2 separate regions of the Homo sapiens genome follow, and region 1 is linked to region 2. Evidence: promoter capture Hi-C in human tissues and cell types (Jung and others, 2019). All regions are on one chromosome and are shown on one strand. Each heading gives the region's core, a stretch centred on a gene start or on the middle of the fragment in contact. The rest is flanking DNA. Distances are from core to core; before and after follow the strand shown. Region 1 has its middle 75 kb from the start of RPE65. Region 2 holds the start of WLS (Wnt ligand secretion mediator).

Evidence for each region. The method cuts DNA at HindIII sites, captures the fragments that hold promoters and counts their contacts. A contact is called where the count stands out against the background at its distance.
Region 1: a fragment that was not itself captured here is called in contact with the fragment with the promoter of WLS in region 2 in 1 of the 25 tissues and cell types used here (H1 embryonic stem cells).

What each region holds. Positions count from the first base shown.
Region 1 is chr1:68,370,886-68,378,327 of GRCh38, reverse strand. It overlaps the pseudogene ELOCP18. Among named protein-coding and RNA genes, the nearest start is that of RPE65, 75 kb to the left of the region's middle. The HindIII fragment of the contact is 3,383 bases long and covers 1,036-4,418 here.
Region 2 is chr1:68,228,252-68,235,122 of GRCh38, reverse strand. It overlaps WLS (Wnt ligand secretion mediator), which reads left to right and starts at 2,600. Exons shown (of 12, transcript NM_024911.7): 1 at 2,600-2,929. The coding sequence starts at 2,824. The HindIII fragment of the contact is 13,703 bases long and covers 1-5,814 here.

The DNA of each region.
Region 1 (7,442 bases), core at 1,478-3,977, 140 kb before region 2:
AGCAGTCTCAAAATTCTCCAGTCCTAATCCCTTTATGTTTACCAGTTTTTCCCTCCAGTTATTTTTTTTTCCTCACATTTTAGTATAAGTAGTAAGACAGAAATAAGCCAGCACCTTTAACACTTTGCTTGCAAATCTCCTCAGCTATATATCTAAGTTTGTCATTTACAAATTCTGCTTTCCACATAACTGCAGGACACAATTTTTCTAAACTTTCTATCACCACATAGCAAGGATTCTCCTTCCTCCAGTTCCAATAACATGATTCTCACTTCGTTCTGAGTCTTCCCCAACAGTATTCTAAAAGCCCAGATTTCTAATTAAAGTCTGTTCATGATGATTTAGGCTTTCTCCAAGGAAATTTAGGTTTGCTCTATAATGCTCTTCACCTCCTTCTAAGCTCTCACCAGTTGTATCTTTAATATCCATATTTCTACTAACAGTCTGTTTGAGACAATTTAGCCTTTCTCTATCATGTTCCTCAAAATTCTTCTAGCCTCCAGCTACTGCCTAATCCCAAAACCATTTCCACCTTTTAGGTATTAATTACAGCAGTATCAACTTTCAGTATCAAAATCTGCATTAGTCTCTATTGCTGTGTAACTGTCATAAGCTTAGCAGCTGTAAACAATACATATTTATTATCTTACATTTTTCATGGGTCAGGAGTTTGGCACATGTTAACTGGGTCCTCTGCTTAGGGTCAGTCACAAAGGCTGAAATCCAGATGTTGGCCAAGCTGGAGGTACTGTATAGGATTTGCTTCCAAGTTCAGTCAGGCTGTTGGGCAGAATACAGTTCTTTTTGTTTGTAGGACTGAGATTTCCATTTGCTTGCTGACTATTGGCTAGGGGTCACTCTCCTCTCCTAGAGGTCACTCACATTTCTTAACTTACGGCTCCTCCCATCTTCCAGCAAGCAATGGCATTTTGAGTGCTTCTCATGATTTGAATCTCTGACTTCTTCTGCTTCTCCAACTAGCCAAAGAAACCTCTCTGCTTTTAAAGAATTCATGTGATTAGATTAGGCTTACCCAGATAATCTCCTTATCGTAGGGTCAACTGATCAGTAACTTGATTACCTCTGTAAAATTCTTTTTGCCAAGTAACAACATAATCACAGGAATAACTAGAGGGTAGAGATCATGGAGGGCTAGCTTAGAATTATGATTATCACACATTCTTACACCAAAAATACCCTAGGAATATACTAATAGTGGCAACTATGCGTTTTCATTTCTTTCTGCATTTTTATGTTGTATAATTTTTAAAATCATATAACTGCAATGAGGAAAAATGCAGAACTATATTATTATGAGTATAGTTCAAATCATAGTGGCTTTACAGAATCTTGGAGCTATCTGCTTGCCCATTTGCAGTGACTACAACTGCATGAAGTACTGATTACAAAAGATAGAATCATTCATTTTTAGAAAGCTAGTTTTGTTACACTGCAAGCTTTTTCTACAAGCACACACATTTCTAATAAAATAAATTTATTGTTAATGATGAGGTTTGAAAATAGGTGATATAAAGGTATGCCTAGCTTCTTACTCTATCTGCTTCTACAGCAAAAGAAGTCAAAATGCTGAGGGCCAATGAGCTGCATAACTAACTAGCTGCTTCCAGCTGAAACAGCAGATCAGGATTGTATAATGCTATTGAATTTCAACTTTTTCACTCAGGCACCAAATGTTTACTGAGCTCCCACTATACACAGAGCACTTGGGTACAGAGATACAGATGGCACCACCCTGAACCCAAGTGAAGAGCTCAAAATTTCTCATTTTGCCCAGCAGACAAGTTTCTTATTTAAGTGAGTCAAAATTATACTTTAAATATTAACTGTCAGATTTCAGAGGGCATTTCAGATATCCTAAAAATATTTTGATAATTAAACAAGAAGAAAACCTGTATTCCAAACAATGTTTATTCCCTGCGTCCTAAAAAAACCTATGTTTAAAAAAAAAGAATGAGGCAAATTGAAATTTTCCTTTCAACATGACCCTTGATCAGACATTCTTTTGGCTATTTTGACAAGAAAGAATCAGTCAAAGCCTGGTCACATTCCTTTAAGGTCACAGCTCTTTGTCATCATCATCTCTTCTTTTGGCAATGTACAGTAGTTACTTCCAAATGCCAATTACTTTGAAAAGATCTTGGCTTAACCTTAGTCTAACCCAGCCAACCCTCCAAGTCAGCCCAGCAGCAATGCTGGCAGACCTTGGAAAAATGGAACACTGGGCTGTTCATGGGCTGTTTCCATGGAGAACATCACATTTCATAGGGGAAATACGAGTAGTCACTTGGAAGGCCCACCTCTTCAAGAGTGAAACATTATACCACAGCCTGGTATTTCAACCTATCTTCAAACTTCTTGGCTTAGTGAATTCCTAAACTTTATATTCAGTTGCTGTTTTCCACCTGCTTACAATTCTTGATCCTGCACAGCAACTCTTCTGATCAGAATTGGAGCAAGTGGAGAAGAACTACAAAAGGGACCCAAAGAGGGGCAATGGCCCTGGAACAGGGGCTATGGGGGTGCGTGGGGACCAGGCTGCAGTGGCTGCAGGGCTGATGAGTGAGACTCTGACTGAGGCAGAAGCAGAGCTCCAGGAAACTACTAAAGTTCCAGGGGAAGCAAAGTAGCATTTTATAAGAACAAAATGAATGGAGAGGAGAAAACCTATGGTGGCTGTGAAGGCCCTGAGATGCCATGTATGTCAAATTGATACCATCTGATGGCCATGAATTTATTGTAAAAAGAGAACATGCATTAATATCAGGCATGATAAAAGCCATGTTGAACAGCCCTGGTCAATTTGCCGAGAATGAAACCAATGAGGTCAATTTTAGAGAGATACCTTCGTATGTGCTATCAAAAGTATGCATGTATTTTACTTACAAGGTTCGCTACACTAACAGCTCCACTGAGATTCCCGAATTCCCAATCACACCTGAAATTGCACTAGAACTGCTGGTGGCTGTGAACTTCCTAGATTGTTAAATAAAATAAATTACATTTTGAAAAAAAGGGGCCCGAAGGAAGTCTGTGGGAGCTGAGGAGAGGGAAAGGAAAAGAGCCCAGTCTGACAGGTGGTGTTTCTTTTTGCACTCACCCTTTCTATTCCCCTTCCCCTTTAACCTCTTTCCCCGTTTAACCATCTTTCACTATCTTCCTTCCCTTCCAAGAGATCTTCCCTATGTAGCACCATCAGTTCCCAAAGGCTGCCCAATTATCTCCAGCTTTTTATCCTCTACCTCCGCTAGCCCTACAGATAGTAAACACAGTCATGCTGAGCCTCCGTGCACATCCCTTGGTTAAAAGCTTTCCATTAATTTACTGATCACTATTCATTCATTTATTCAAAAGACATTTACCAAGTGCCTCCTAGGTGTCAGGCCCAGGGCTAGCTGCTGAGGATAAGGAGGGGAACTAGACCGGGTCTCTACCCTCAAGAGATGGAGGAAGCACTCATACACACAAGGGTCTATAATAGTATTACATTACATTTTTATGCAATAAAATGGAGGAAGAGTGGATTCATCTTGATGGTACTAAGGGAGGCCAATTTTTAACTCTGTCCCCTTAAAAAAATTTGATATGCTAAAACAAATAAACTATCAAACACTAACCTGTTCAATCCAATCAGGTATAAGACAGCAAGAATTCCACAAAGATATCCAAGAGATAGGTTGAATTTAAGGCAGGACTGTTTGCCAGGGAAGAATCACAAGTGGAACAAGTATGCTTCGAGAAAAAAGTCTGTGTGCCAGGAGAAATGGGAGCCAAGGTTGTGAAAGAGGTGCACTGCAGGAAGACTCGCGACATACTGGTTATCTTGGTAAATTCTTTGTTCAAAGAGAAGGCAGTATGAAATGAATTTAAGTTCAAAAATATGGAAGGCAAGGTATGCACCAATGCATTTTTTCATTGCTTATCTTGACTAAAAATAACACAGTGTGCTCTCTTTGCAAGTCAATACATAGAACATGGAGACAGAGTTGGAGAGACCATCCGCTTCCCCAACATCCTTGTAAAACATTTGAAAAAACTTGACATTCCCCTGCATTGTTAGGCTGCTCTTTGTAACGGAGTTATAAAAACCCTTTCCATGGAAAGATCTCCCATTCAAACATTTTTTACTGCTAGCAAGCAGAGACACATACTGCCCTACCAACCTAATTCCAAGCTTGAAGGCCATGAGCTTGAGAGACCATTTTTAAAGTTGCATGTTAGAACCTGTAATAGAAATGATAAAAAGAGGGGGAAGCTAGAAATAGCACAGATGCCATAACTGTATAGAAATGTATTCTAATCAAGTCGTCTTAACCCCTGGTGAGGTAGACTCTACAATTGGCAAAGTCTCGTGGGCCCTTCCAATATGCCAATCACAGACCTGTAGGTGTAACCTTCCATATTCCCTGAATTCCAGGGGTCTCCTTTTCCAGAAAGAGAAATTTAAACTCAGGCACAAAAGAGAGGTTGGATAAATCTTTGTTGAATAAGTGACAATTTATAATTTTTATTAGAATAGTAATACAGTAGTAATATCGAGAATGATGTGCCAGATGTTTATTCAATACCAATTCTTCCTTATCTACATTTTATAAATGAAGGGATTTAGGTCATATTATAGCAAAGCTTGGATTAATTTAAGCCAAGTTGGCCCAATTCCCCCCACAATATTGAGTCACCTGATGTTTGTAGTCTAGTGTCAGAGGCCAATGAGGAATTTTATTCGGGAATTTTGTTCGGTGCTTCTGCTATTAAATAAGAAGTGAAAACTAAGGGCGTGAGGTTGAAGCTGGCGGCGCTGCTGGAGCAGGCCAGGGATGTCCAGGAGAAACCGGCAGGGAGGAGGGACTGGGAATGGTGGGTGGGAGGAGTAGTGGTTGGGGGTGAGCCTGGCGGGTGGCACGGAGCCAAAGTCAGGAGAAGGCTGGAGACCGAGGCTCCAAGACCCCCAGCTTCCCGCAGGCGGTGCGGGCGGGGGTTGCGCTGCAAGGATGCTAGCAGTAGGCGCGAGCGTGTGGCTGCTGCTGGTGCCATCGCTCCCCTCTGCTCAGGGCCTTGGGCTGGGGCGGCAGCAAGGTAAGATGAGGATTGAATGAATCATATAAAAATGCAGGGGTTTTGGAGAGTAAAAAGTCAAATATCCCACAATTTCTTTTTTTTTTTTTTTTTTTTTTCTTGAGACGGAGTCTCACTCTGTCGCCCAGACTGGAATGCAGTGGCGCAATCTCAGCTCACTGCAACCTCCGCCTCCCGAGTTTAAGCGATTCTTCTGCCTCAGCCGCCCAAGTAGCTGGGACTACAGGAGCGCGCCACCACGCCTGGCTAGTTTTTGTATTTTTAGTAGAGACAGGGTTTCACCATATTGGCCAGGCTGGTCTCGAACTCCTGACCTCGTGATCTGCCCGCCTTGGCCTTCCAAAGTGCTGGGATTACAGGCATGAGCCACCGCATCTGGCCATATCCGCCATTTCTATGGTTCACGGTAATATAGGTGAAAACTGCTAGCACAGAAGCCTGCCTGAAAGCCTGTTTAACCATAGGCTATGCTGCATTATACTAATGCGAGGGTATAGAATGCAAGCACATTCGGCCTGAGGTCAAAGGAAGTCACAGAAGGCCAAGCCCAAGATCAACCAGTAGGGGGAAGAACATTCTTCCCATGAAGTTAAAGAAAGGGAGTAAGTATTTTTGAACAATAATATAACTTGCAACATTTCCAATTAGAAGACATCTGAGACTGCACTTCCAACCTGGGCTACACTGATTTAGCCTCAATAAACTATAGCATTTCGTCCTCATCAATGTTGGCTAAATCTTTGAAATCAATAAAACAATAATTAAATAAAGAACTATTGTATGTATAAATTTGTTTCTTGCAAGGAACAATTCTGTCTTTGAGAAGCAAATAATCCAAATGAGAAGTAAGGAAATAAACTTATTTCACTTATTTAGATTGAATACACTCAAGTTTTATCTGGAATTTGATGTCTTTTCTATGAAATATTTATATTAGTCCATTTAGTCATGGAGATGTGTATTTTTTTTAATCATTAACCAGGATATTTGTTTGCCAGCTGTAGTTTGTTTAAGGGTTTTGTTTTGTTTTAGACAAGGGTCTTGCTATGTTGTCCAGGCTGGAGTGCAGTGGCTGGCTAGTCACAGGCTTCTTCGTCTTGATTACTCCCAGTTTTGGTGATTATAAATAAAATAATTGTAAATATTTATGTGTGGTGTTTTGTATGAACAGCAGTTTTCAAATCAGTTCGGTAAATACCCAGGTGCACTACTGCTGGATTCTATGGTATCCTTAGTTTTGCAAGAAACTGCCAAAGTGTTTGTACCATTTGGCATTCCCACTAGCAATGAATGAGAATTTCTGTTGCATTCTCACCAGCAATTGGTATTGTCAGCTTTTCAGATTTTGGCCATCCTAATATATATTTTTTCCATGATTTTACTTTCGTCTTATTTGTTGAAATCTTATTTGTATTGATTTCTGCTATTTTGCTATTTGTGTCTATATATATCATGCATTTTTTGTTTCTATGTTTCTCTTTCACTGCCTTTGTTGTACTATGTAAATATTTTCTACTGCACCATTTATATTCATTTGTTGGACACTGTTATGGACTGAATGTTTGTCTCCCCCCAAAATTCATATATTGAAACCCTAGCCCTGGATGTGATAGCATGTGGAGGTGGGACCTTTGAAAGGTAATTAGGTTTAGATTAGATCATGAGGGTGGAACCCCCATGATGGGATTAGTGTTCTTATAAAAAGAGGAAGAGAGACCAGAGCTTTCTCACTGGCATGTAAGGACCCTGTCCATAAGTTGCTGTCTATCGACCAGGAGGAGGGCCCTTGCCAGAAACCAAGTCAGCCAACACGTTAATCTTATAATTCCCAGCCTCCAGAACTGTGAGAAATAAATATCTATTGTTTAGACCACCTAGTCTATGGTATTTTATTATGGTCACCTGAGCAGACTGATACAGATGCCTTTTACTATATATATTTTAGTTCTTTTCAGCCATTATTTCTTAAATATATTTTCTTCACTTTTTTTTCTTTTCTCTACTTCTGGGACACTGACACTGGGTCACTTGATGATGTTCCTCAATCTCTGAGACTCTTCTTTTTTCTTCATTGTTTTTTCTGTAATTCCTTATAATTCTTGATCCATCATTGATTTCACTCATTTGTTTTATTCTGCCAGCTGAACTCTGCTATTGAAACCCTGTAATGAATTTCTTATTTTAATTACTGTACTTTTCAACTTCAGAATTTCTATTCCATTTTAAAAATAATCTTCATCTCTTGATTTGTATTCCCTACTTGATTATTTATTATTGTTATGCTTTCCTTTAGTTCTTAAATATTGTTTTCTTTATTTATTTAAACATATCTATACTAGTTATTTTGA
Region 2 (6,871 bases), core at 1,351-3,850:
GGTGGGCACCTGTAATCCCAGCTACACAGGAGGCTGAGGCAGGAGAATTGCTTGAGCTCAGGAGGCAGAGGTTGCAGTGAGCCAAGATCGTGTCACTGCACTGCAGACTGGGCGACAGAATGAGACTCTGTCTCAAAAACAAACAAACAAATAAATAAACAAAAAACCCACCATTTTTTCTCTACCCTCTTATGCATAGTGCTTGGGGGTCTGTGGACTAAACTGACAAAAGACAGATTAGCAAGGCAAAAGACAAATTTTTGTTCACATATATCAAATGTATGTGGGCATTCATAACCACTCAAGGAGGCAGTTGTTAATAGAATTTGGAGCTTATATTCTATCTTAATAGGAGAAGAAGTGTATTTATGAGAAAACAAATGACTTTTAGGAAAGATAAATGGGCCCTTAGGAGTGCTGGGCTCAGAACATGATACCCCAAGGTATCTGAGTACTTTGAACTGAAGGACATTGGAAGGACAACAATTCTGTCTACTTCATCCTTTCTGATAGTACCTGGTGTTTGCCAAAGTAGAGGTAATTAATTACTATTCAGTGAATAACATTTGGACTGGGGGGGGGTTCCTCTGGGGCAGGTGCAAGTACTTTGACATCTTGGTATCCTTGAGTGCTTAAGAAAGAAAGCCTGGAACATGTTAAAGGCTCAATAAGTGACTTGGATAAAGAGTTGAATGAGAGAATAGATAAACAGCAACCACAGTCATGCATTGCTTAATGATGGGAATACCTTCTGAGAATGTGTTGTTAGGTGATTTGTCATTGTGCAAATGTCATAGAGGGCACTTACATAAACCTAGGTAGCATAGCCTACTACAGACCTAGGCTACACCGTGTAGCTGATTGCTCCTAGACTACAAACCTGTCTGGCATGTTACTGTACTGAACACTGTAGACAACTGTAATGCAATAGTAAGCACTCTGTGTATCTAAACATATCTATAGAAAAGGTGTTGTAAGAATATGGTATTATAACCTTATAGGACTACTGTCACACACACGGTCTGTTGTTGACTGAAACATCCTTATGTGACACATAATGATGTGTATATCCTCAGAACTGTTAAGAACTATTAGATGTTGAAGAGATGGAGTTTTGTATGCATAAAGTTTGGTGCTTGTCCTTGACAAGTCTCTGTTCTATTTGGAGATTAGAAATGAATGCTTCTATTAAGTGTAACCTGCATGACATCTTTTATAAGGGCAATGAAAATTCAGGAACAGAGTAGAGGAGGAGAGAGGACTGGGAAAAATAGTCTCTTGGCATGAAGAGGGTGTGTAAGGATGGGAGGGACAAGAAACAAGATGTGTGGGTGGTGGTGGTAGAAACTGCACGTTTGGGGAGCAGGGTGGGGTATTTACCAAACCAAGGGTCTATTGAGTAAGGTGAGTTGTACTGGCCAAGCGGCCAGTTTATGAAACATGGAAAAACCAGGCCCAGAAATTTAGGCTTGATAGAGCAGGAAATCTCTATCGGGAGCCCCGCCCCTCTTTTTATGGAAGTTAAGTATAAATATAAATATATGATTTCTCACAAAGAGACAACAAACATTGTAACTTAATATAGGTACCCTCTAAACCAACTAAGATCTCTTTAGACCTTTGAAATACAAACTGTGGGCTTGCTTTCACATTCACTTATTCATTCCACAAAAGATTATGGGGCACCTACTAGAGCTAGCATTTTGTTAGGCACCATGGGGGGTACAAAGAACAAAAAAAACTTGGTCCCTATTCCCCAGGAGTTTACAGCTCAGTGGTGGAGACAAACGTGTACACAAATCCTTACAATAGGAGGTAAAAATGTAAATACAGGATTGTAGGGGCTCAGTTCCCAGAGATACTGCATGGAGGTGGTGTGGAAAATTAGAAAGATTTTTTAACACTAGTTGGTTTTGGATCAGGTTTAACATTGATGGAGTAGAACATGTTCTCTTTAAGGCAATAACCAGGGTTAAGGCTGTGGAAGCACATGTGCTGGAGTAACGAACAGTGGTCTGATTTGGCTGGAGAGCAAGTTTCCTCAAGGGGCGCCGTGGGGAATTTAGCTGGGTATGTGCCCAATAACCGAGGCTGGGAATCTGGTAGAAAGAAGTCGAGCTGAGACTTTATTCCGCATCTCTGTGTTTTGACTTAGGCATCTATTGGGTCCTTTTAAAAAAAATTCTCCTCCTCTTTCCTAAAGAGAGTTCTAGCAGTTGGGGGTGGGGTGGGGACCATTTCCTAAAGTCAACGCGTAAGTTAAAGGTCTGCAAGGCGGTCCACCGGTGATTTAAATCTCGCACTTCGGAAACCAGAAAAGGAAACCTGTGAGAAGCTGGGCAGGGGGAACCCGCTTAACATCAACAGCAACCCCTAAATGGCATCAGACCTTGGAGAGACAGGTTGCAGGCCAGACTCGGGAGCCAGGCGCCAGCACCCGCCAGAGCTCTGAGCCCCGAACTGGTGGGCAAGGGGTAGAGGAAGAGAGGGAGGGAGGGAGGGAGGAAGCGCGAGAGGGAGGGAGGAAGAAAGGGAGGGAGGCGGCGTCATGTGATCCGCTTCCCTGCTCCTTTAAGCGTCCACAGGCGGCGGAGCGGCCACAATCACAGCTCCGGGCATTGGGGGAACCCGAGCCGGCTGCGCCGGGGGAATCCGTGCGGGCGCCTTCCGTCCCGGTCCCATCCTCGCCGCGCTCCAGCACCTCTGAAGTTTTGCAGCGCCCAGAAAGGAGGCGAGGAAGGAGGGAGTGTGTGAGAGGAGGGAGCAAAAAGCTCACCCTAAAACATTTATTTCAAGGAGAAAAGAAAAAGGGGGGGCGCAAAAATGGCTGGGGCAATTATAGAAAACATGAGCACCAAGAAGCTGTGCATTGTTGGTGGGATTCTGCTCGTGTTCCAAATCATCGCCTTTCTGGTGGGAGGCTTGATTGGTAAGTGCGGAGAGCTGCAAACTTTTCCCCCTTTCTGTCTTTTCGGGCCCCTTCCCTCTTTGCCTCTTGGGCTACTTGTTACAGTATCACTGCCTTGCTTCTATGATCTAATTAGTCCGGCTATTGTGCTTAAGAAAGCAGAGCTCCATGGGGCTCCGTGGGGCACAATCCAGTCTAGTGGCTAAGAGAAAAGGAGGGGAAAAAGTTTTGGCCTAGTTTCAGTATCCACTTGAAAGGCAAGAGGGGGGCGGCGGGGGTGGGAATCTTAAGCATGGCGACGGATCGCGCGAGGAAGCGCTGGGTTACAAAGTTGATTGCTCGCCCCCCCCCCCCCCCGCTTTTTCCCGCGTTCCCCCCCTTTTCCTCTCGGTTCCCTTCCAATCAGCTCCGGGAGGGCAACGTAATCGACTTTATTAGGAACAACAGAAGAGTCGGGGAACTGTGCCCGGCGCAAACCCGGAGCTCTGTTACAAGGCTGAGATACTTGCACGGTTGTAAATGCATTTGGTCGTCTTTGCTAGGGGCTGAGGGTTTGCAATTTGGGGTCCCGACCTTCGCGCCCTCTGCTTTCCCGCCGCACTCCACCCCACGCTCTGCCGTGGACAGGTCCGAATTGTCGGCCGGGAGGTTGGGTGGGATGGGGTGGGGTGGGAGGGAGTCCTTGACCAGCGCCGCGGGAAGTTGGAGAGGTCGGAGGGGAAAAGCGTATCCGAAAGGTGTTGCTTTTGGCCTCCTGCCCACTCGTGAATATCCCTTCCCCCACTACTTAGAGCCCCGAGAGCCGGTGACTGTGAATGTCCCCGTCCTCTTTTGGCGCTTAGGAGAGCGCCCTCAGCTCCCACCACAGCCCCCCGCAGGTGACAGCTCGCCGGCCTCCTCGGCGACAGCGCCCGCCCCGGGAGACCTCCCCTGGCGTGCACCTCCCGGACCTCTCTGAGTCAAACAGGCTTCCGGGTGAAGAAAACCGCCTCACGGACCGTCCACTCGGAAAAACTCCCTTCCCCTCACTGTCTCCCCATCTGCATCCATCCTCCCGCCTCTCTGCACACTCGCGCCCCCCGCCCCCTCAAGATTTGGGACATCCCGGCACAAACTTCAATGCCAACTTTGCAGCGGGCGCGGACGGGAGGTTCGGTTTCCTTACTTCACGGCTTTGTTAAACTTTGCGGAGTGGGGAGTCCACGGAGGGGCTTTCTCCGCGCGTGCCTTTACGGGCGCCCACGCGATGTGGGGTGCGGGGAAAACGCCCGGGGGCGCCGGCGGCGTCGCTGCCAGAGCTGCACAGGCTTGGGCACCTCCAGTCGTGTGCTTGGCGTTTTGTCTCCAGACTTGGGTTTGATGGGAACAAATTAAAGGGAGTTTGGTACTGTAAATCACGGTAACATCCAAGCCAATTGTCTTAAACAAAGGAGAGTGGGTGAAGCTTCATCAAGGAGAGAAATACCTAAAGGAGACAGTGCTCTTTTCTCTGTGTGCATTTATCCACAAAACAGAAAAGGGTTCAGAGTTTTCAAACAATCTCTTATCCCCAGTGTGGGCCAAACAGCTTCACATTTTCTTTCTGGAACCCTCACCCTCAACACACACACACACACACACACACACGCGCGCACACACACACACGGGTTGGCTTTTGTGTTAGGAGCTTCTGTTTGGCTACATGCAATCTCGTTTCCCCGTATTGGATTTTTCGAGGCTCTTAATACCTTCTCTGCTGGGAGCTGAAGGCAGCCTTCCCTGTGCCCTCACAGTGATTATGCAGCGGTTACAATTACACCTCTTGTCTCCCTTGATGAGCAGTTGCAGTTAGATGCCATTGGATCTTGTGTGATTTCAGTGGCAGACCATAATTAAAATTTCTTGCACCTTGTGCTTTCAGAATTAAATTGGCCTATTATCCCTGTCTGACCTTCATCCTCTTTGAGGTTTTTGCACAAGCAGCAAACCATTACACATAGTTTCCTGGTGTTTGTTGGTGTGTTTCTTTTTCTAGGCTGATCTCCTAGCTTTGCAGACAGAGCCCATTATCCAAGAAGTAGGCTTCCTAGGGCACTTCTGAAACTAGTAGGATTTCTGGGATGCTACCACCAAGGAGAAGCCCTAAGGGCACTCGTGAGTGGCTGGTGGACATTGGAGCGACTATAGGGTCAGAACACTTGTCTGTTCCAAACAGGGTTTGTCTGGAGTAAGTGGTGCCAAAGATTGTTTTTCCCGAAGAATTTGGTTAATGACGACAACCTCAAAAAGTCCGCGGCAGGTGCTAACTGTAACTAGCTTCCCCTCAATTAATAAACTGCTTTATTCCAATTTCCTTGAAAAATATCTATGTATAACACTTCTTGGAGGAAACTGTATAAGTTTACTGCTTACCTCTCCTTCCTCAATTGCAAAGGCTGTGTCTCCAATTCAGATCAGATCTAGCCCATGTTGAACAGTGACTTAGCCTTTCCTCTTTCACTTAAACAGTAATTTTTTTTTGCTCTTAAATCTAAAATTTGGGTAGGACCCAAATATGGGAAATAAATATCAACAAAATGTAAGTGAAAAATTTTCCCACCAAACTTCCCTAAGCTGGAAAACAAAGGAAACTAAGGAAAGAATAGCAACAAAGTGGGCAAGCGGAGACAGTAGTTGAAGGAACAGTTTGTAGGCTGGAAGTCAAGGTAAAGTTCAGAAACCTCCTCTGCTCTCTCGAGTGAGAAGAGAACTCCTCCGCTGCTCATTGTTATTGCCACTTAAAAAGTCAGTTGTCCTGGGTGTGAAGTGTCTCTCTAATATATCTGCAGTAGGCCAAGTGAGAAAAAGAAATGTCCCCTTTGAACTGGCCAGAATATATTTTTCTTTTTGATCACTCTTTTTGCTGATGAAAGTAAACTTAGGAAGAGCAACTTAGGAAGGGGAGAATATAAATGGCAAAGCTCTTGTTTGTAAGGGTGTGAGTACTGCATACACCACACACACAAATATACAGCACAAAAACAACCACCCCACCAAACAATAACAATCCGTGAACCCCAGAGTGACCAGGCAAGTGAGTTAACTAGCAGGCTTCAGGCTCCTCATTGGTAGAGGAAGGAGTTTAAGGTCCCTTTCGGTTCTAAAATTGTGTAACTCTTTCAGTACTTAGAGAATTGTACATGACATTTAGGCTGTTGTTTCGTTGTAGCCTTCTAGATTTGATGGAGAAAATTTAAACATTCACTATAAAAGCAACTAGCCTCCAGGAATTGGCTTTGGTTTAGCCAGCTTAAATATTCTCCTATTTCAACATCCTTCTTACCAAAAAAAAAAAAAAACAAAAAAAAACACATTTTTTTGCTTGCTTTTTTTTTTTTTTTTTTTTTTTTTTTTGGCACCAGTGTCTGTAAGCTAAACCTTTAATGGGATTTTGCAAAAAGGCTCTGAAAGCAACATCTTACATAGTAGAACTTAGGGTATTTATAAATTCACTGATTTATATAATGCTTTTTTAAAAACTTTGAGCCACTATGAAACCATACATCTGATACATCTACTATTCTAAATACATCTAAATACATTCTAAATATTTAGAAATTATTTAAAAATGCGGTAGTACCTGAAGGAAAAGATAAATATTTTTAAAAATATAACTTTATCCTCCTTAAAAATAAGCCTGCAGAAAACTTAAAAATAATTCTCTTTTGATTTCATGTTGGGTGAATTTAGCTCCTGAAAAGGCAGCTTTGGGGGTGGTGGTAGAAGCAGGGAGGGAAGGAGACCATGTACCCTGAAAAGAGAGTGCAGACTAAAAATCATGAACTTGAATCCCATTATGTGCAATTTGCTCAGCTTCAAATTAGTCATGTCTCAGAAATATAATGGTTGAAAAAGCAGGTCACTGTTCTCAGCTCTTCTAAAACTGCTAAGAGTATGAAGATCAGAACTGGATTAATAGAAAATTGTTGCATTGTTTTCAGCATA